Linked DNA regions of Homo sapiens: regions 1, 2 and 3 are each linked to region 4. The links are contacts of gene promoters, found by promoter capture Hi-C in blood cells and fetal thymus (Javierre and others, 2016). All regions are on one chromosome and are shown on one strand. The core of a region is centred on a gene start or on the middle of the fragment in contact, and the rest is flanking DNA. Distances in the headings are between cores, read along the strand shown.

What was found. The method cuts DNA at HindIII sites, captures the fragments that hold promoters and counts their contacts. A CHiCAGO score of 5 or more calls a contact.
Region 1: a contact is called between the fragment with the promoter of PLET1 here and the fragment with the promoter of NCAM1-AS1 in region 4, in 7 of 17 cell types (naive CD8 T cells, total CD8 T cells, non-activated CD4 T cells and 4 more). The highest score is 7.7, in naive CD8 T cells.
Region 2: a contact is called between the fragment with the promoter of IL18 here and the fragment with the promoter of NCAM1-AS1 in region 4, in 3 of 17 cell types (total CD4 T cells, non-activated CD4 T cells and total B cells). The highest score is 7.2, in total CD4 T cells.
Region 3: a contact is called between a fragment that was not itself captured here and the fragment with the promoter of NCAM1-AS1 in region 4, in 6 of 17 cell types (total CD4 T cells, naive CD4 T cells, naive CD8 T cells and 3 more). The highest score is 7.4, in total CD4 T cells.

Annotation. Positions count from the first base shown.
Region 1 is chr11:112,259,478-112,264,650 of GRCh38, forward strand. It overlaps PLET1 (placenta expressed transcript 1), which reads right to left and starts at 1,383. Exons shown (of 4, transcript NM_001145024.1): 1 at 929-1,383. The coding sequence starts at 1,112. LOC100132686 (a long non-coding RNA gene) reads left to right here and starts at 788. Exons shown (of 1, transcript NR_133566.1): 1 at 788-1,919. The HindIII fragment of the contact is 13,385 bases long and covers 1-1,504 here.
Region 2 is chr11:112,162,431-112,167,938 of GRCh38, forward strand. It overlaps IL18 (interleukin 18), which reads right to left and starts at 1,664. Exons shown (of 6, transcript NM_001562.4): 1 at 1,476-1,664. TEX12 (testis expressed 12) reads left to right here and starts at 4,942. Exons shown (of 5, transcript NM_031275.4): 1 at 4,942-5,057. TEX12-AS1 (TEX12 antisense RNA 1) reads right to left here and starts at 4,713. Exons shown (of 3, transcript XR_001748384.2): 1 at 4,633-4,713; 2 at 3,646-3,746; 3 at 2,932-3,089. The HindIII fragment of the contact is 1,434 bases long and covers 905-2,338 here.
Region 3 is chr11:112,203,743-112,209,083 of GRCh38, forward strand. The region is part of intron 8 of BCO2 (beta-carotene oxygenase 2); the gene reads left to right. It also overlaps the pseudogene MRPS36P4. Among named protein-coding and RNA genes, the nearest start is that of PTS, 20 kb to the right of the region's middle. The HindIII fragment of the contact is 3,645 bases long and covers 1-3,223 here.
Region 4 is chr11:113,271,513-113,277,051 of GRCh38, forward strand. It overlaps NCAM1-AS1 (NCAM1 antisense RNA 1), which reads right to left and starts at 2,389. Exons shown (of 3, transcript NR_034101.1): 1 at 2,112-2,389. It overlaps NCAM1 (neural cell adhesion molecule 1), which reads left to right. Exons shown (of 20, transcript NM_181351.5): 19 at 248-364; 20 at 3,755-5,539. The coding sequence ends at 3,875. The HindIII fragment of the contact is 7,964 bases long and covers 1-5,400 here.

The DNA.
Region 1 (5,173 bases), core at 133-2,632, 1.0 Mb before region 4:
CTATATAAAAAATATCTACTGGACACCTCTAAGAAAAGCATTGGATTAAGAATGAACAGACTAAGATTCAAGAGCCAGTTCTATGACTTACTAGAAGGGAGACTCTGGGCAGGTCATTTAATTTCCCTTGGTCTCAGGCTTTTCATACATAAAGTGGGTTAGTAATACTTCCCCTGTGTTGTTTATTAGATTTTTTTCACCCACGGACTAAATGCAGTACACAATTATCCCCAGAGGCATCATATTGTCAAATAGATATGAAAAGATTACACACTGGAGGCTGGGTACAGTGGCTCACACCTGTAATTCCAGCACTTTGGGTGACTGAGGTGGGTGGATCACTTGAAGCCAGGAGTTCGAGACCAGCCTGGTCAACATGGAGAAGCCCCATCTCTACTAAAATACAAAAAATTAGCCAGGCGTGGTGGTGTGCACCTGTAATCCCAGCTACTTGGGAGGCTGAGGTACAAGAATTGCTTGAACCCAGGAGGCGGAGGTTGCAGTGAGCTGAAATTGTACCATTACACTCCAGCCTGGGTGACAAAGTGAGACTCTGTCTCCAGAAAAACAAAAACAAAAAGAGAAAAGATTATACACTGGAATGCAATGATTATCCCTTAAAATGATAAAACTGCCCATTTTATTTAAGTCAGAGAATCTACCCCAAGTGTGCTCTTGCTGGGACTCAGTGAATCTGGGGTTGGGGCTTTCTCGCTCCTGTGGCTTGAGTTCACAAGGAATTTGCAGAAATAGCCCCCCAGCCCACTCCCTTAATTCTCATTCTTTGTCTTCCTTCCCTTGCTTCCCATTTGGTTCAGAAGACACATGTTTTGTATAATTGAGAGTAGCGATAGAGGGGTGTGTTCTGAAATTCTGGTTAATTTCCCTCAGGGAACAAAGGACAGCAGAGAGCATGGCTTCTACTCACCAGAATAGACTGCATTGCTTTCGTAGATATGTGAACTGGCCTTGATGTCTAGGGTTATGGTGTAGTATTCATCAAAGGTGAAGCAGGTGCTACTGTACCTTATAAAGGTGGCAGAAGAAAGCTGCAGACTGAGGCACAGAAACATCCCCAGTGGCTGCAGCAGCATGTCATGGAAGACTGCCATGGTCTCAGTCTGTTTGGAAAGTGCTAGGCCTGGAATTGGGTGAAACTGACAACTCACCTCTTGTTTATATGCCAGGGCTTCTGGGTGAAGTCATACATGCAGATCTTCTCCCTGCCCCTTCTGAATATACATTGGATTCTGGAATTTGGCCCAAGACATCACCAGGAATGAATCACCAGTCACCATTACCTGTCACCGATGATTTTGCAAATTGCAGTTTTGCTCAAGAAAGGGAATGTCCTGAATATGGTTTTCTTTTACGCCTGTCATTTCAGCATCTGCTGTTTGAAGAAAGCCATTGAGAAGATGTGAATACCAGCAAGTGAAATTCAGAGTTGTGTAAAATGTAAAATAAACCCCTGAGGAATGAGATGTCTATAGGGGGTTTGAAAAGCTTGGACGAATCCCTGGGAATCTAAAAAGCCATGTGCATGTGCAGGGCTACACACATTCCCAGGAAAGACCTGAGGAGGCCCTAATTACTCACCTCTGGCCGACCTTGAGGCTCTGCACAAGTAAGAAGTAAAGGCTAAGGTAGAGCTGTAAACTGCCTATCTGATCACTGAAGGCATTCCCCAAAACACACATGCAGAAGTGCTTAGCAAAGACTGGGAGACTTGTTGGTTCCAGAGTTATTAGTTAAAGAAATTTTTTAAAAATCTATTTATTAGCTGGTCAATAAGCAAACAGAACAGAGACTTTGGTGGTTACACATGATAAAGAATACAGACTTCACATAATTAATTTAGGAAAGTCATAAAACAAACAGCAGCAACAACAACAATAAAAAAGAATAACAAACAGCAACAAAAACAAACTCAGGGAGGAGAAGGGAGTCTGGTGTCCAAAGTTGTCACATTTGTGTGTGTGTGTGTGTGTGTGTGTGTGTGTGTATGTATGTATTTATTTATTTTTTTGAGACACAGTCTCACTATTGCCCAGGCTGGAGTGAAGTGGTGCAATCATAGCTCACTGCAGCCTCAAATTCTTGGGCTTAAGTGATCCTCCTGCTGCAGCTTCCCAAGTAGCTGGGGCTATAGGCACGTGTCATCACACCTGGTTAATTTTTATAGTTTTTGTAGAGTCTTGCTATGTTGTCCAGACTGTTATTGAACTCCTGGGCATAAGCAATCCTCCTGCCTCAGCCTCCCAAAGTGCTGGGATTATGGGCATAAGTCACTTTGCTTGGCTTCATGTTTTTTAAATGTTCAGTTTTCAAGAAAAATTATAAGATATACAAATAAACAAGAAAGTATGGCTTATACAGAAGAAAAAAACATCCCAGGTAAACAGAAACTGTCCCTGAGGAAGCCCACACGCTGAACTTGACATAGACGTTAACTCAGCTTTATAAATACGTTCAAAGAACTAGAAAAAATCATGTCTAAAGAATTAAAGGAAAGTATGAGATTGATTTTGGTGATTGTCTCACCAAGTAAAGAATAGTAATAAAGAGATTAAAATGATAAAAAGAGCCAAATAGAAATTCTGCAATGGAAAAGTACAATAACTACGATTTTAAAAAGTCACCAGAAGAACTCAACAGCATATTTGAACTGGTAGAAGAAAGTATTGGTGAACTTGAAGATGGGTCAATTGAATACATTTAACAAAACAAGTGCAAGACTTGTATACGGAAAACTATAACAATACACTCAGGATAGTCAAAATGATCTTGAAAACAAACAAACAAAACTCACAAAGTTTGAGGACTCACACTTCCCAATTTTAAAATTTACTGTGTAGCTACAGTAATCAAGACAGTGTGGTACTGACATAAGGATAGACATATACATCAATGAAATAGAATTGAGATTTCAGAAACATACCCACACATTTATTATTAACTGGGTTTTGACAAGGGTAACAAGACAACTCAATGGGGAAATAAATGGTGCTGGGTCAACTGAATATGCACATGCAAAAGAATAAAGTTGGAGCCCTACTCGTACCATATACAAAATTAACTCAAGGTGAACCAAGGGCCTACATGTAAAACTATAAAACTCTTAGGAAAAAACATAGGTATAAATCTTCATAACCTTGGTTTAAGCAACAGTTATTAGACATGATGCCTGAGGCAAAAATAAGTAAAGGAAAAATAGATAAATTGGACTTCAAAACTAAAAGCTTTTGTTCTTTGAAGGCCACTATCAAGAAAGTGAAAAGGGCTGGGCACGGTGACTTACGCCTGTAATCCCAGCACTTTGGGAGGCCAAGGAGGGTGGATCACCTGAGGTCAGGAGTTCGAGACCAGCCTGGCCAACATGATGAAACCTCGTCTCTACTAAAAATACAAAAATTAGCCAGGCGTGGTGGTGTGTGCCTGTAATCCCAGCTACTCAGGAGGCTGAGGCAGGAGAATTGCTTGAACCCGGGAGGCAGAGGTTACGGTGAACCAAGATTGCACCACTTTACTCCAGCCTGGGCAACAGAGTGAGACTCCATCTAAAAAAAAAAAAAAAGTGAAAAGATAATCTACATCATATATCTGAAAAGGGCCTAGTTTCTAGAATATATAAAGATTACAACTCAATAACAAAAAGACAAATATCCCAATTTAAAAATGAGCAAAGATTTGAATACTTTCTCCAAAGAAATGTACAAATGGCCAATAGACATGTGAAAAGATGCTCGACATTATTAGTTATTAGGAAAATGCAAATCAAAACTTGAATGAGATACCTCTTTACAGCTAGAATTACTACTGTCAAAATGACAGGTAATAATAAGAGTTGGCATGGATATGGAGAAGTTGAACCCTCATTCATTTCTGGTGGAAATATAAAATGAGGTAGCCACTTTGGAAAACGGTTTGGCATTTCCTCAGAAAGCTAAACATAGAGTTACTACTATATGGTCCAGGAACTCCACTCATAGGTATATACCCAGGAGAATTAAAAATGTATGTCCACACAAAAACTTGTACATGAATGTTTATAGGAGCATTATTCATAATAGCTAAAAAGTGGGAACAATCCAAGTGTCCATCAACTTATGAATGGATAAACAAAATGTGGTATGTTCTTACAATGGACTATTGTTTAGCTATAAAAATAAATCAAGTACCGATACATGCGACAACATGGATGAACCTTGAAATGACTGTGCTCAGTGAAAAAAGCCAGACACAAAAGACCACATATTGTATGCTTTCATTTCTATGAAATGAAATGAAATATCCAGAAGAAGCAAATCCACAGAGACAGAAATATGAAAATCCACAGAGACAGAAATGTGAAATATTGAAAAAATGAAATATCCAGAAGAAGCGAATCCACAGAGACAGAAAGTGATTGCCAGGGACTAGGGATGGTGCGGGGAATGGGAAATGACTATGACTGCTCATTGATTTGGGGTTTCTTTTGGAGATGATGGAAATGTTCTGGAAGTAGATAGTGGTGATGGTTTCACAACCTTGTGAATATACTAAAAACTACCAAATTGAATTTGATGGTATGTGAATTATATCTCAATAAAATTTTTATTTACATAATATGCTGTGTAGGCAAGTTGGGGTAGCAGAAAGAATGTGACAGAACTTTAGTATTGGGTCCTGTTCAGAGTCCTTGCTTTGGGAGAGTTTTTAAACTATCTGAGCTTTAGTCTCCACTTCTAAAATTAAGGCAGTAATATCAGTCTTACATACTTTTATGTATATTAAATGAAAAGTGTATGTAAGCTGTTTTGAACTGGGTCTGGTGGTGTGCCCCTATAGTCTCAGCTACTTGAGAGGCTGGGATAGGAGAATTACTTGAGCTTAGGAGTTTGAGTCTAGCCTGAGCAACATATTGAGACCCCCATCTCAAAAAAGAAAACAAAACAAACCCCAAAACCATTTTAGGGAACAGGGTGGGCCTGACATATAGTATAAATTTTTAACAAATGTTAATTAGTTTCCTACCTTCCTTCCTTTCTTCTTCCCTTTCCTAAATTTATACAGATTAGGATGGTAGAAAAGAAAATACAGGAGTTCTGCTATTGATATGGGGATGATGGTCTAATCTCCTTATGAACTGGGGGACATGGGATTGGGGGGATGGGAAACGACTCAGAAGGGA
Region 2 (5,508 bases), core at 414-2,913, 1.1 Mb before region 4:
CCTCCTGGGCTCAAGTGATCCTCTTGCCTTAGCCTTTTGAGTAGTTGGGACTACAGGCACATACTACCACATCTGGCTAATTTTTGTATGTTTTGGAGAGACAGGGTTTTTGCCATGTTGCCCAGGCTGGTCTTGAACTCCTGAGCTGAAGCAATCCACCTGCCTTGGCCTTCCAAAGTGTTGGGATTACAGGAGTGAGCCACTGCACCCAACCTGTGATTTTTGGATTGTAGTGGAACAGTCCTGCTATTTTGCAGTGAACACAAGGTAAAGTCGGATTAGATTATGGAGGGCTTTGGAAATCAGGTAAAAGAGTAAATTTAATCTCACAGGCAATAGGAAAACATTGCAGATAAAAAGTTATTTTGAAGGAAGTTTGTTTGTTTTTTTGTTTGTTTTTTTGAGAAAGTCTCGCTCTGTTTAGTGGCTGAACTCACCACAGATTTGGCTATCCTGGGCTCAAGCAGTCCTCAGCATCCTGAGTAGTTCTACAGGCATGCACCAACACACCCAGGTAATTTTTTATTTTTTTGTAGAGACTGTGTTGCCCTGGCTGGTCTCAAATTCCTGGGCTCAGGCCTGCCTGAGATTCTAGGCATGAGCTAGTGCACCTGGCCTGAAAGAAGATTTAATAGAACGTAAAGTAGCTGAATATAGGCAAAAAGACGAATTTCAGGAGTCCTAAAATTTAGGGGGTCCTAATTTTTGTTATTCAACTTCAAACAGAGATATTTATTCAGCCCTTTCCTTAATTGTGAAAGAAAATTATCTCGGGGAATGCTATATTATCCAATTGTAGCCCAGTCCAAAGGTGTGGCAGATTTCACAAGATGACTAACCATGGGCAAATTTTTTGTTTGCTTTTAATGTAACTGATTCTGTCTTGAGATTCCGTTTAAAGAGAAGCTTATTTATTTTACCACTCTAAAGCAGCAATTCTCAGGGAGTTCCTAAAGTGAAAGCTATTTCTAATAATTCTAAGACGTAATTTGTCTTTTTCACTCATTCTCTCATGAGTGTACAACAGAGTTTACCAGAGGCTACATTCTGTGCAATATTGCAATAGTCTGAATGCAAAGCAGATGAGAATCCAGCAGATCTATATGGCTTCTATTAAACCAGTTAAAACACTTGTAAAAATAAAAAAGTGTCACTCTTTATGCTTTTTTTTTGTTGTTAAAAAAGTACATAGTTATTTTTAATTAAAAATGTTACTTATGCTAACATGTGATGTGCTTAGTGTAAAGGGAACATGAGAGCAAAAAGTTTGAGAACCTCTCCTCTAAAGTGATACTCTCCCATATCTGATAAAAGAAAAAAATTCTACTCTGACTTTGCTTATATTTCTTATGTTGATACTGACTGCTCATCGTAGTGATGCTAGATGGTTTATATTCCTCTCAATTGCTTTCTAGCTTATTTACCTCTAATTGCCATGGCTGACTTTCCAAATAAAGAGGAATGATATTTCTTACCTGCGACAAATAGTTTGTTGCGAGAGGAAGCGATCTGGAAGGTCTGAGGTTCCTTTCCTCTTCCCGAAGCTGTGTAGACTGCAGCAGGTGGCAGCCGCTTTAGCAGCCAGAGTTGGCAGCCAGGAGGGCAAAATGCACTGGGAGACAATTCCTTGCTGACTGTCCAGGCAGTCGCCAGGGGAGCAAAGGGCTCAGCAAGCTGGGGAGAGAATGAGGAAGAAGGTGGAGGGAGGAGACTGCTGTCGGCACTCCTTGGGCCCGCCTTCAAACAGGCTCTTTCCTAGGGCAATGGAAGTCGAAATAAAGTGGCAGAGGATACGAGTACTTCTTTTAATGTAATATCACTATTTTCATGAAATCTTTTCTTCCGTAAAAGTTGGGGCTCTGTGCCTTCCAAAACCTGTACCTCTTTCTGAGTATCTCTTTCTGACTTTAAGAAAGCACCTCCTTAGTCCATTAGAAGCATCTTCTTTTGTCATCTGTCTCTCTTCATTTTCAGACTTCCTGGTCACACTTCAGCACAAAACTTTTTCTTATTTTACAATGCGGAATAATCAGTCCTATTGGGGTAATTCCTACAATGTTACAACACTTAAAATATTTCTAAAATGTAACATTTTAAAAAAAGGAACATTTTGCAAATATTTTCTTTTACTTTATAACCTCATTCAGGACTTCCCCTTCCTCCCAAGCTCAATATGGTGTCAAAGGATAGTTGATACAGGCCATTAAGATTTACTTTTCAGTGGAACAGGAGTCCATTTTCATAAAACTTCTTTATCTGCTGTATCAGATGCAAGCCACACGGATACCATCATTAGAATTTTATTTAATAATTTTTACACTTTCTGCAACAGAAAGTAAGCTTGGGGAGAGGGATACCAAAATTCAGGTAAGAGGGCAAATATTTACTTGCAGTTTCCAGTGTTAAAACTTTCTATTCCTGGAATGATAGCAAAGACTGACCTAAAATATTTGAAATACAATTTAAGGATACATATATTTAGGGCTTATGTTCAACATGTTAAAAAATAGTCTTATAAAATGTAACGTTTGAAGAGCAGAGTGTAAATATCACAGTCTTGAAAATAATTAGTGGAAACAAAATTTCTTAGCCATTTTTTTCTTGAACATGTGCTAAACTGTATTACTTTGCTAGGAAGGGAATTAGCAAGGTGGCATTTTGTTTTTGTGTTTTGCCAGTACAGAGTTGATATAAAAACAGAGGGGTTCCTAGAGTCAGGGAACAAAATGCTTACATAAACACTACTTTTTGTTGGTTTGTTTGTTTTAAAAACAAGATAGGGTTTTCATTTCGGGAAGTCATAAAAACATCATGTCCTTCAACAGTGATTACAAAGGAAGTCTGTGGCAGGGTGGCTGGAAGTGCTTGGTGTGGTGACTATCAGAAGAAAAAAAATAGTACCTTTAAGAAGTATATGATAAGAATACATACGTGACTCAAGTTGAAATAGTAAGTTTTCACCTTCCAACTGTAGAGTCCAATTGGGCCAATTAACATGAAAGCACGAAGTGGGATCAAGTAGTGATCAGAAGCAGCACACTAAGCAAGCTCTAATTTTAAATATTCCATTGCCAGTGAATTTTCTCCAGCTGTAAAGATGCAGAATGTGTAATTTACACATTTTGAAGTTTTGGGACAAACACTTTTTTCTTTGATATAGAGCAACAAATGTCTCAGTGTCCTTTGTACTTCATAGAGTTGTTTTCAAAGATTAAATGAGATAATGATGACAGCCCTTTGAATATTTTAAAGCTCTAGATAACAATATCATCTCACTTATTCCTACCCATTTAGCTTATGCAATGGAAGTTAATATTTAAAAAATAAAAGAAAATAAAATGTCCATGGTGTTCTCTTAATCTGATGAAAGCATTTATGCATTAGGTGGAATCATTTTTCTTGGAAATATTTTAAGAATCAGATGGACAACCACCTGTTTAAATATCATACAGTGTGAAGGCTGTGAGATGAATTCCATGAGTATTTCCCAGACCCTTGGGTTTAATGAACCATTAAAAATAATAACAGCAACCATGATAATAAGGAGGAGGAGATAAACACAGTGGACAACTCTACATTTTACCAAGGAAGGACACTAAAAATGTAAGAATTTTTAATCTTTTTATTTCATAAAACTTATCTCACCTGTGCCCCCCAAATTAGGAAGGACATGGTATCAGAATAAAGCACAGTCACTTTAAAGTGAATATATTTGACTTGATGAAAACTTTATACTGCTGAAGAGTCTGAAACAATAAAGATAAAAATTAAGGCAAACTAAAACTTCATTCCTTTTCCCTTCATTTTACCACAGAGGGTAAAAATTCAACACAGATTGCTATTGTTCTGGGACAGTGTTTGAGACTCCTTACTTCGCCATAGTTATCTAGGCTAGTATTATGTGGCCTATATTTCACAATATTAGCAACTCAGATTAAACACATTGAGCGCTTATTTTCTAGGAACTTATTTAAAACAACCGGCTTCTTCACAAACAGCAAATAAATATACACACACAGAATACTTCCAAGACTTAATGATAACTAACATTTAATCAAGCAAAAGGAAAAAAAAAACCTTAGTAATGTATGTAAATGTTAAATATAGTTCTCTAAGATGTAAGATTTTGTACCTGGAGCTTATGGATGTGTGTTATTGACCTTTGTGTTATGAGGTAATTTGCTTTTTTTTTTCTTCCACATCCACTAACTGGGCGTAAGCTTGGAATGTATATCTTTGAAATTGCAGGTCAAAGCCTCCGCATTAAAGCACCCGATGAGGCAAAGCTACAATTATGTGAGCCATGTGTGTTATGCAACACTTTTTGATAGCTGTTGCCAATTAGACTTAACTTATTGACACACCCGGGGAAGAATTTTCTAAGAAGGCGTGATTCTGAACGTTTGGTTGCACCAAAGAGGAAGAGGGGGCAGTAACTGAGGCTCTGGATCTAAAAGCCTTGCTTGTGGGCCAGGGGAACACGTGATTAAAGCCTTCCTGCAAACAGAGCATCTGCAAACGCAGTTTTAAACCCTTCCTGCAAACAAACCAAGTAAATTTTACTCGAAAAGAGGCCGTGGATGTGCTATTTTGTGTTCCTTTGCTGAGATTCTAAGCTGCTGGGACACACACCGGCCTTGCTTTGGCAAGTCTTCCTTGTTCTTTCTTGACCAGTTTCAGATTTTTTCCTGGTTCAAACACACACAGGGTGGCAGGGAGAGATTTTTGTTTCACGAGTATTCCAAGTGGAGGGGAAAGAGCGGGAGAAAACCGGGAAAAAGCTGCCTTTCCGTGGGGCCTGGCTCTGGGAGGCTACGGTGGGGAAGTTGGGGGGGGTGGTGGTGGGAGAGCTGTCACGTGACTCGTGCAGGGGCTGCTGGGAGTGCGGCGCGCTTCCCACCTCCACCCCCGAAGTCCGAGCACCCCGCGCCCGGGGTCTTCACTCCCTCGCGTTCGCTGACGAGGAAGGTCCCCATACCGCGAAGTACATTGGCCTTGGGGTGGGGCTGGAGGGATGGGCGCCTGTGAGAATGTGACGGACTGTGACACAAGGAAGGGTGCGAGGATGGAAACTTCCTCTGAGGGGCTCTAGTGGGGCGGAAACAACAGTAGGGAGGAAGTGCGGAGGGGCGGCGGGAAGTGAGGGAAAATGGAGGTGAAATGGCCTGAGGGGCTAGGATCGCGTTGAGAAGAGGGAGAAGACTAGAAGGAGACAGCTGCATGGGGCAGAGGGGACAGTGCTTAGTAACAGCCAGGTCACTAAGCCTAAGATGGCAGAGCCAGGGCAGTGGTCAGTGTTTGGCACACGACGAAGACCAGCCCGTCCACCAGGCCTGGATCTGCTGAGGCCTTGAGCCATGACAGGAAAACGAACTTATTTTTGCAGAAACAGTTACTTGATTATAAGTTTTCGTTTGACATAGGTGCACAGTGTTACTTGGGGAGAGAAGAGAAGGGGGTGAAGGGGAAAGGGAAAATTAGAAGGGGAAGGGAAGAGAGAAAAATCTG
Region 3 (5,341 bases), core at 151-2,650, 1.1 Mb before region 4:
TCTTTGCCTTCCCCTCCCCTCTGGTGGTAACCACTGTTTCATTGTCTTTCTCTGTGTATTTGAGATTTTCTTTAAAAAATTCCACATAAAAATGAGATCATGCAATTTTTTTTTCTTTTCTTTTTTTTTTGAGACGGAGTCTCACTCTGCCACTCAGGCTGGAGTGCAGTGGCGCGATCTCGGCTTACTGCAACCTCTGCTCCCGGGTTCAAGTGATTCTCCTACCTCAGCCTCCCGAGTAGCTGGGACTACAGGCACATACCAACATGTCTGGCTAATTTTTGTATTTTTAGTAGAGACCAGGTTTCACCATGTTGGCCAGGCTGGTCTCTAACTCTTGACTTCAGGTGATCTGCCTGCGTTGGCCTCCCAAAGTGCTGGGATTACAGGCGTGAGCCACAGCGCCCTGCCTCATAGAATATTTTTCTTTCTGTGTCTGGATGTTTCACTTAACATAATGTCTTCCAGGTCCATCCATGTTGTAGCAGACGTCAGGATCTCCTTTTCTAAGATTGAGTAATACTCCATTGTGTGTATATATCACATTTTCTTTATCCATTCATCTGTCAATGGGTATTTAGGTTGTTTCTGTTTCTTGACTGTTATGAATAATGCTACAATGAACGTAAGAATGCAGCTATTTTCATGAGGTGGTGATTTCATCTCATTTGAGTATATACCCAGGAGAGGGATTGCTGGGTCATATGTTGTACAGTTGACCCTGAACAACATGGATTCGAACTGCATGGGTCCTTATATGCAAATTTTCTTCTACCTCTCCACCCCTGAGATAGCAAGACCAACCCCTCTTCTTCCTCCCCCTCAGACTACTCAATGTGAAGACAATGAGAATGAAGACCTTTATGATGATCTACTACCACTTAATGAATAGTAAATATATTTGCTCTTCCTTATGACTTTTAGTAGCATTTTATTTTATTTTTTTTGAGACAGAGTTTTGCTCTTGTTGCCCAGACTGGAGTGCAATGGCGTGATCTCGTCTCACTGCAACCTCCGCCTCCTCAGTTCAAGCAATTCTCCAGCCTCAGCCTCCCGAGTAGCTGGGATTACAGGCATCTGCCACCATGCCCGTTGTATTTTTAGTAGAGATGGGGTTTTGTCATATTGGCCAGGCTGCTCTCGAACTCCTGACCTCAGATGATCTGCCCACCTTGGCCTCCCAAAGTTCTGGGATTACAGGCTTGAGCCACCACACCCAGCCTTTAATAACATTTTCTTATTTTCTTTTATCTGGTTTGCTTTATTGTAATAATACAGTATATAATACATATGAAATACAAAATATGTGTTAATTAACTGTATGTTATTGGTAAGGCTTCCAGTCAACAATAGTTTATTAGTAGTTAAATTTTTGAGTAGTCAAAAGTTATGTGTGGATTTTCGACTATGTAGGGGGTTGGCACCTCTACCCCACTCCGTGTTGTTCAAGGGTCATCTGTATTTTTTATTTCTTTAGGAACTCCTATACTGTTTTTCATAATGGCTGTACCAATTTATATTCCCACCAACAATGTACTAGAGTTCCCTTTCTTCTACACCCTTGCCAACATTTGTTATCTCTTGTCTTTTTGATAATAGCCATCCTTATGAGTGTGAGGTTTTATATAGTGGTTTTAATTTGTATTTCCCTTATGGTTAGTGATGTTGAGCACCTTTTTATATGCCTATTGGACTTTCAAATTTTATTTTATTTTTTATTTTATTCTTTTAGGGACAGGATCTCACTCTGTTGCCCAGGCTGGGTGCAGTGGCATGATCATAGCTCACTGAAGCCTCAAACTCCTGGGAACACGTGATCCTCCTGCCTCAGCCTCCCAAGTAGCTGGGTCTACAGGTGCGTGGCACCACACTCAGCTAATATTTTAAAAACTTTTTTGTAGAGACAGGGTCTTATTATGTTGCCAAGGCTGCTGTCAAACTCCTGGGCATGCATGATCCTCCTGCCTCAGCCTCACAAGTAGCTGGGATTACAGGTGCATGGCACCACACTCAGCTAATATTTTTAAAACTTTTTTGTAGAGACAGGGGCCTTGTTATGTTGCCAAGGCTTTTCTCAAACTTCTGGGCTCAAGTGATCCTCCTGCCTCAGCCTCCCAAAGTGCTGGGATTACAAGTGTGAGCTACCACACCTGGCCTCTATTTTTGGAGAAATGACTGTTCAGGTCCATTGCCCATTTTTTATTTATTTTTAATTAATTAATTAATTAATTTATTTTTAACTTTTAATTAAAAAGTAAACTTTAATATTGAAAATGCAAACTTGGGGAAGACAGAAAAGATCACACACAAGGCTGTCACTTCACACTTGGAAGGTTGCGCAGCGGCCAGGCAGAGGCGCTCCTCACATCCTAGACGGGCGGCAGCTGGGCAGAGGTCCTCCTCACTTCCCAGACAGGGCGGGGGCCGGGCAGAGGCGCTCCTCACATCCCAGACAATGTGGGGGCCAGGCAGAGGCGCTCCTCACTTCCCAGACAGGGCAGCGGCCGGGCAGAGGCGCTCCTCACTTGCCAGAGGGTGGGCGGCTGGGCAGAGGCACTCCTGGGGCGGCAGGGGCGGCAGCTGGGCAGAGGTGTTCCTCAGTTCCCAGACGGTGGGCGGCCGGGCAGAGGCGCTCCTCACTTCCCAGACGGGGCGGCGGCCGGCTTTTCCCATTTTTTAATTGGGTTATTTGTTTTTCTGGTATTGAGTTGTAAGAGTTCTTTATAAATTTTGAGGCCAGGTGTGGTGGCTCACGCCTGTAATCCCAGCACTTTGGGAGGCCAAGGTGGGAGGATTGCTTGAGCCCAGCAGTTCAAGATCAGCCTGGGCAAGATGGCAAGACCTCATCTCTACAAAAAAATTTAAAAATATACAAATTTTGAGTATAATTCCTTATTGGATATGTGGTTGCAATTTTTTTCCCCAGCCCATAGGTCGCCTTTTCGTTTTGTTGATTGTTTCCTTTGCTGTGCAGAAACTTTTAAATTTGATGTCAACTTGTCAGTTTTTGCAAGGAAAAAACCTGATACAATATTGCAACTGTAGATCAATTTGGAGACAATTGACATCTTTACAATATTGAGTCTTCCAATCCATGAACATGGAATATCCCTCCATTTATTTGGGTCTTTTAAAATTTCTCTCAGTAAAGTTATAGTTTTCAGTATAAAGATACTACATTTCTTTTTGTGTGTTTTGAAATTATTGTAAATGGTATCTTTTAAGCTTTCATTTTCTGTTTGTTGCTCTTTATAGAAATGCAATTGATTTTGTATATTATCTTCATATCCAGAGATCTTGCTAAATTCACTTATTAGTTCAAATAGTTGATCCACAGATTATTTTGGATTTTCTATGTGCACAGTCATGTTACCTGAAAATAATGACAGCTTTCTTTCTAATACTTAGGGCTTTATTTCTTTTTCTCGCCTTACTGTACCAGCTAGGACTTCGAGTTGAATAGAAGTGCAAGATAGTGAATAGAAGTTGAATAGGTAGTGTTGAAAAATGTTTAATAATTCATTATTAAATATAAAATTGCTATAGGTATTTTTCTAGCTATCTTTATCAGATTATCCTAATAGTGCCTTTTAATGAATAAACATTCTTAACTTAATATGGCCCAGTATACAGTCTCTTCCTTTATGACTTATACGTTGTACATCTTGTTTTAGACATCTTCTCATGGCAAGGTAATGAAAATATTATCCTATGTTATCTTCTAGAGAAGTCAAGTATCTGTATATGCATTATTCTGTTTCTGGACTGTATATTCTGTTCCATTGTTTCTACTTATGGTTACTTGTGCACTGCATTAAAAAAGTCTTAAGGTTTAGTGTCAAGTTATCCTAATATTTTTCTTTTGAAAAGAGTGTCATGGCCATCCCTGGCCCTTCACGTTTTTGTAGAAATTTTAGAATCAGCTGTCAGTTCCCCACACAAAAATATGGTCACATTTTAATTCTATTTGCACTGAACCAATGTATCAATTTGAGAGAGGACTAACCTCTTTACACAATGTTGAGTCTTCCAGTACGTGAACACAATATATCTTTCCATTTATTTGAGACTTCTTTAATTTCTTTCAATGTTTATAGTTTTCTGGTTACATATTTTCTGCATCTTTTGTTAGATTTATTCCTAGGTTTTTTTTTTACATTATTTTAAATGTTGTTTATTTTTTGCTTTCATTTTATGTTAGTGTTGCTATATAGCAATTTTTTTTTTTTGAGACAGTGTGACGGTCTCACTCTGTCACCAAGGCTGGAGTGCAGTGGTGTGATCTCAGCTCACTGCAACCTCTGCCTCCTGAGTTCGAGCAATACTCCCACCTCAGCTTCCTGAGTAGCTGGGACTACAGGCATGTGCCACCATTCCTGGCTAATTTTCATATTTTTTTGGTAGAGATGGGGTTTCACCATGTTGGCCAGGCTGGTCTTGAACTCCTGACCTCAAGTGATCCACCCACCTTGGCCTCCCAAAGTGCTGGGATTACAGGAATGAGTCACCGCACCTGGCCGGCAATTGATTTTTGTTTGTTGATTTTATATTCACTAATATAGTAATTACACTTACAAATTCTAATAATTATAGATTCTTTTAGATTTTTACATCTATAATATCATATGCAAGTAATGATAGTTCCTTTTCTAACTCTACATGTAAGCTGTATATTGGCTTTTTTTTTTTTGTCTTATTTCACTGGATCTTCAGTACAGTGTTGAATATAAGTGATGATAATGGCATCCTTAACTTGTTCCCAATCTGAGAGGCAAAGCTTGCAGCATTTTACCATGAAGCATGCTGTGGCTGTAGATTAAAAAAATATAATAGAAACTGTCCCTTCTCGGGGGTCATGATGGGCAGCAAGATGCATCTGCTAGCAGTGTCGTTCAGGTAGTCAAGCCACATGCTCCATTAATAAGCTTCCCTGCTGGAAGAGACAATCCTAAACCCAATGTACCAGAAGCTCTGAGATCAGCAGGGCAACCATCTCACGATTCTGCAATTTCCCAGCATTCTAAGGGAAGTAAATTACTGGATTTGTGGATGTACCAGACACTGCAGAAGTAATGAAAACATTACCTCAGAAATATAGAAGTAAACTTGTGTCTCAAGAAGAAATTGAATTTGTCCATTGTGGAGATCCAGAATAATCACTGTGGCTGCTGTTTGTCATCAGACAAAAGAATTACCTTTACAATAAAGGACTTCCAAAAAAAAATAGACTGTTTTTTAGAGCAATTTTACTTTTAAAGAAAAATCAAGCAGAAAGTATGGAGAGTTTCCATATTTCCCTCTCCTGCTAATGGTACATTTGTTACAACTGATGAATCAATGT
Region 4 (5,539 bases), core at 1,139-3,638:
ATTCTCATAACTAGGCAAAGTAACAGTGTTTTTGCCTCATTTTACAGATGAAGGGACTGAGGCAGGGTGATTAAATCTGAAGCTCAAGGTCACACAGCTAGCAAGGGTTGGGCTGAGACTTATACATTTGAATCTGTTGGCTCTGGATGCCCACCGTGCCAGCCTTGGGTTGAGTCATAGCTGCTCTTCCGTGGGAGCCCCTCCCTGCAGCTGCCCTAGGGTCTAACCAGCAGTACTGTCTCCACAGGAAAGATGAGTCCAAGGAGCCCATCGTGGAGGTTCGAACGGAGGAGGAGAGGACCCCAAACCATGATGGAGGGAAACACACAGAGCCCAACGAGACCACGCCACTGACGGAGCCCGAGTACGTGGGCTGGGAGGGGCTGGCACCTGCTCCGTAGAGACCCCCACACCCACCTCCCCACCCTACCCCCACCTCCCGTGCCCCTACCCACAGCTCCCGGCCAAACAGTTCAGGCCAGGATTCCAAACCCTTGGCCACAAGACCTGCTTGGCTGAGAAATGCCTGACCTCAGGCATTTCTGGTTCTATTTCGGTGGCTGTGGGTACCCTTAGAAGGCTCCTGTATAAGTAGGGATCCCTGGATCCCTAGCCCCTGTTCTCAAGTTATACACATATTCTGGAAATGGCTTAAGGTGGCAAAATCTCACTGAAAGGCTTAGCAGAGTCTGCTTAGGATTTCTTGAAATTCTAGGGTTTTGTGTTTTCCCCCTGAAAGGATAAGGGAAGCTGGGGACCTGGTAAAGTTCTCTGCCCCTCCTCTGTTCAGAAACCTCGGGGACCCACGGAGCCCCAGACCAGTTGTGGTTGTAATGCCTGCCTAGCTGTCAAGGATCTTATGGGCTTAAAGGGAATGGAGTTTCAGGGAACCACAAAATCTGTGACTGGAAGAACCCACAGCTCCTATGAGCCATTCTGAGTACTCGTGATCTGCCTTATTCGTGACTTTTCCCATCGGTGCCCTGGGGAGCCCTGCAGGACAGCTGGGCCCAGTTCCTCTGGGACCTGGGAAGCCTAGAGCAGGTGGATGCTGAACAGAAGCCTGCCCCTCCTTGAATGGAGATCCAGGGCAGGGATCAGGAAGCCCTAGGCAGGTCTGCAAGGACTTCAGGGAAAGGGAGCTCTATGCAGAGAGCTGGAGAGACATCAGCAGGGAAGGGCTAGCAGGTCCCTTTTGAGACCGCCACGTTCTCTGTCGTCTCCTGTGTCCTCTTCTGCCCACCTGGGCGTGTGCTTCCTCTCAGCATCCTTCTCTCTCTGTGGGCCTGTGTCCGTGCCTGTGCCTAACTGCATGCCCCCACCCCCATGGTCCCTGTCCTGGGCTTCAGCCCTCCTCCTCGCTTCTCTGTCACGTCTCAGCTTCATTGTCTATTCTCTTCTACTTCCTGTCCTCCCACAGGCTGCCTGCCGACACTACGGCCACTGTCGAGGACATGCTGCCTTCTGTCACCACCGTCACCACTAACTCTGACACTATCACCGAAACCTTTGCCACTGCTCAGAACAGCCCCACCAGTGAGACCACCACCCTGACCTCCAGTATTGCCCCGCCGGCCACGGCCACGCCTGACTCAAACTCTGTACCGGCTGGCCAGGCCACCCCTTCCAAGGGGCCCAGCGCCTCTGCCCCCTCCCCGGCCCCAGCTTCAGCCCCCAAGGTCGCCCCCCTCGTTGACCTGAGCGACACCCCGACCTCAACCCCTGCCGCTAGCAATTTGTCTTCTAGTGTCCTGGCTAACCAAGGGGCTGTCCTCAGCCCAAGCGCCCCTGCTGGTGTCGGGGAGGCCTCTAAGGCTCCTCCGGCCAGCAAGCCCACCCCTGCACCAGTCCCCACCCCGACTGGGGCAGCCAGTCCTCTAGCAGCAGCGGCTGCCCCTGCCACAGAAGCCCCTCAGGCCAAGCAGGAGGCTCCCAGCACCAAAGGCCCGGACCCGGAGCCCACCCAGCCCGGAGCCGCGAAGAGCCCGGCCGAGGCAGCCACAGCCCTTGCTAGCCCGAAGAGCGAGGCTGCCTCCGTCAGCACCACAAACCCTTCCCAGGGCGAGGACTTTAAAATGGACGAAGGGAACTTCAAGACCCCAGATATTGACCTTGCAAAGGATGTTTTTGCAGCCCTGGGCTCTCCTGCTCCCGCCGCTGGGGCCAGTGGACAAGCCCCTGAGCTTGCTCCTTCCACTGCAGACAGCTCTGTTTCGCCTGCGCCAGCAAAGACCGAGTACGGCCTCTCTTTGTCTGCTGTCATCGGGTTGTGTCCTGTGGTGGTGTGCATTTGTGCTGTGCTGTGTCCTCCTTGTTAGATGTGTCTTCAGCCTCATCCAGGGCTTCTCTGAGGCGACCGTCAACCAAGGGGCTGGGATAAGGCAGAGAGAGCAGGACAGGCAGCTGGGCCCCAGGAGCAGCCGCCTGCTGGCTAATTAGGCCATGTTAATTATGTTTTATCCTTATCATCCTAGCAGCGGCTTCTGTTTTCCCTGGGGGAGCCCTTGCAGTCAGGCCACTGATGAGAATAGCTTGGGAAGCAGGCTAAGAAGGCCAAGGTGCCCTTATCAGCCACCCTGGGGCCCCCAGTCGGTGTGTTATTCAGTGCCAGGCTGAGTCCCTACCAGAAAGGCACTGATGTGCAGGAAGAAAAGAGGTAGGCCCCAGGCCCGTGGCAGGGGAGGGTGCAGTTCAGAGGTCCCCTCACACTGTGGCTCAGATGCTCACCCTCCCCTCCCAACCCCGGCCCCCAGCCCACTCTTGCTTCTCCTGCTCTTAGAGTGGCTGGGAAGACTCGGGGCTCCCCAGCATCAAATGGCTGCTGGGTCTCAAAGTTCAAGAGAAAGGCCTTAACCTTTCAGGTTTGTAAGTGTCTTGCCAAAATTCAGTGGCACCAGCTGAGGCTGGGGTCTGTGCCTGTCCCCATGCATCCTCAGACCCGACTCCCTTTCCTGGAACTGATGGAGGCAGAGTCAGACCTAGATTTTTATAGAGGCTCCTATGGCTGCTCCCCAGATAAGCTGCCATGCTGCCACCATGGGCTGCAAGGGGCTCTCGCCAGGAGCCCTGAATCTCAGCATCGGGAGGGAAAAGGACTCTGATAGCCCTGCCCACTCAGCTGCCCTCAACTCTCGCATAGCCACCAGGCCCACTCTAGTACCCCACCAGGCTGCCATGAAAAGCTGCCTCCATCAGTGTTTTCTCACCCTACCCAGGCAGGCCCTAGAGGCATCATCCTGCAACAGCACAGGGTGGGGTGGGGAAGGGACAGGCAAGAGTGGGTTGCAAAGGGGCCCCTGAAATCAGTGCTGGGAGCCCAGCCCAGCCCAGCAGGCTGCATTTACATCCAGCTGAGCTGTTGCCACTGCAGCTGGTCAGGGTGAGGAGGAGCTGCCTCTGCTGCCCCCTTCCACCACCCCAGGTAAAAACACAGCCTCTGGCATCAACTTAGGGCTGGAAGAGGAAAGGACTCGTTCTTCTGACTCAGTGCTTCTCAACTATGGCTGCACATTAGAGTCACTTGGGTGCTTTTAAAAGTCACTGTGTCCGGACCAATTAAATCAGGATTTCCGCGAACACAGCTCGGGCTTGGGTGATTTTTAGTGCTCCCAGGTGATTTGACGGGCAGAGGTTGGAGCCGGGTGCTGTCACTGGAGAACCCCTCCTCCTCCCTGCTGTCCCCAAGGCCTGGATGCAGGGGCGAGATGTCTGCAGACCGTGGTCTCAGTGGTTCTGTTTTCCTGATTCTCTGCAGGAAGGGCCCCGTAGAAGCAAAGCCAGAGTGCCAGGAGACAGAAACGAAGCCAGCGCCAGCCGAAGTCAAGACGGTCCCCAATGACGCCACACAGACAAAGGAGAACGAGAGCAAAGCATGATGGGTGAAGAGAACCGAGCAAAGATCAAAATAAAAAGTGACACAGCAGCTTCACCAGAGCATTTCCAACACCACAGACACACACACGCACGCACACACACAAACACACATGCACACACACACATCTCATTTCTCTAGTGTCTTTTGCCTTTAAAAAAAACTAAACAGATAAAACATGGGAATCTCCTTTTTGTAGGTTTATAGAAAGGGTCCCTTTGTTGCACACTCACTTGTAAGAAAATGAGACAAAAAGGTTAAACCCACAGCCAAACTAGGACACTCCGTTCCCTGAAACCGTTAAAAAATCAAACAAAAGGACCCCAAATTAAGAATCTAGGAAGCTCAGAAACGAAATCTAGGTTCAGGAAGACCACACTTGGTGTTACCCGATTGGCACAGACCAGTTTCAGAGAAATACTTTCAGGCACTAAGACTAATCGAATGAACAAAGTCCACAGTTTATTTTTATACTTTCAGTCAAGTTTGAACTCTGTAAAACCTCATAAATAAGTTATAATTTCTGTTCACTTTGTATTTGTTCAGTATGCAAAGTGTGTCACCCTTTCTAGCTGAATTCAATTCCCACGTAGACTCTTATTTTATAGGACGAATGCCAAATTGCAGCTTCTGGGGGTAGATCTCAATTTGCAGTATTCAGACTTCTTTTTCTTTCTTTTACATTCTTTTTTCTTTCTTTCTTTCTGCCAACTTTGTTTTCCAGTGTTTACAAGGTGACAAATGTTTGACTTTGGTTGTGTTTAAATGTCCGTGTAAAATAGCTGCCTTTTATTTTTTAAGGTAACAAATACCACCTAGAGGTAGGTAGGATCATCCCACGCTTGCTTTAGCACAGGACAACTTTACAAAACATGATTGTTTACAGCTGCTCTTCCCCTCTTTTCTGATCTGCAGTTTTTGCCTGGGTCCCACTCAGGTGAAAATCCATCTCATTCTGGAATGGTTTTGCTTTTGAATTTTTGGTTATTTTTGTGTTTCTTTGGGGGTTAGACCACTTTCTGATTAGCCGCCACCTGCCTGCATCTGTGAAAAGGGATCTGCTCCCAGGCGTTCTCACCCTTCTTTTGAAGGACTCCTTAGGCTTTGTTGAATGAAGCAGAGAAGATTGTATAGTTGGGGCTGGTCTTGGTGAACACACATTATTACCCCACACATCCCCTTTGTGTAGAAAGCCAAATAAAATCTATACATACCATTTCCTTTTGAGCCCAGAATCTAGATTTGAGCGGAAGAGCATGTGTGCTTCAGGGAATTAGTGTCTTTTTTTGGAAATCTGTTGAAGTAAAGTAACATCGGCCTTCTGTTCACTTAGGCAGCATTTATAGAAACAAAAGAAGAAAGAAACAACCTACTGTCTGGAGTCATAACACAACTTTCCTGGATTGGAAACCAAGTGGGGGAAAAAATACAGAAACTTTAAGGGGGATGGGAGGGGGGGGAGAAGGGAAAAGCCAGCCCTTTGTATAGAAATTTTGCTTTTTTTTCCCTCATTCTACTTTAGAACTGCAAGCTTGTGCACTGTGGATGCGTGAATATTTTAGTGTGAAACGTGTTTTTGTCATAGTATTGAAATAAAACTTCAACATAGTTTGGTTGTGGAAGGTATAGCAGATAGTTCAGAAAAAATATTCAGGAAACAAAAATCAC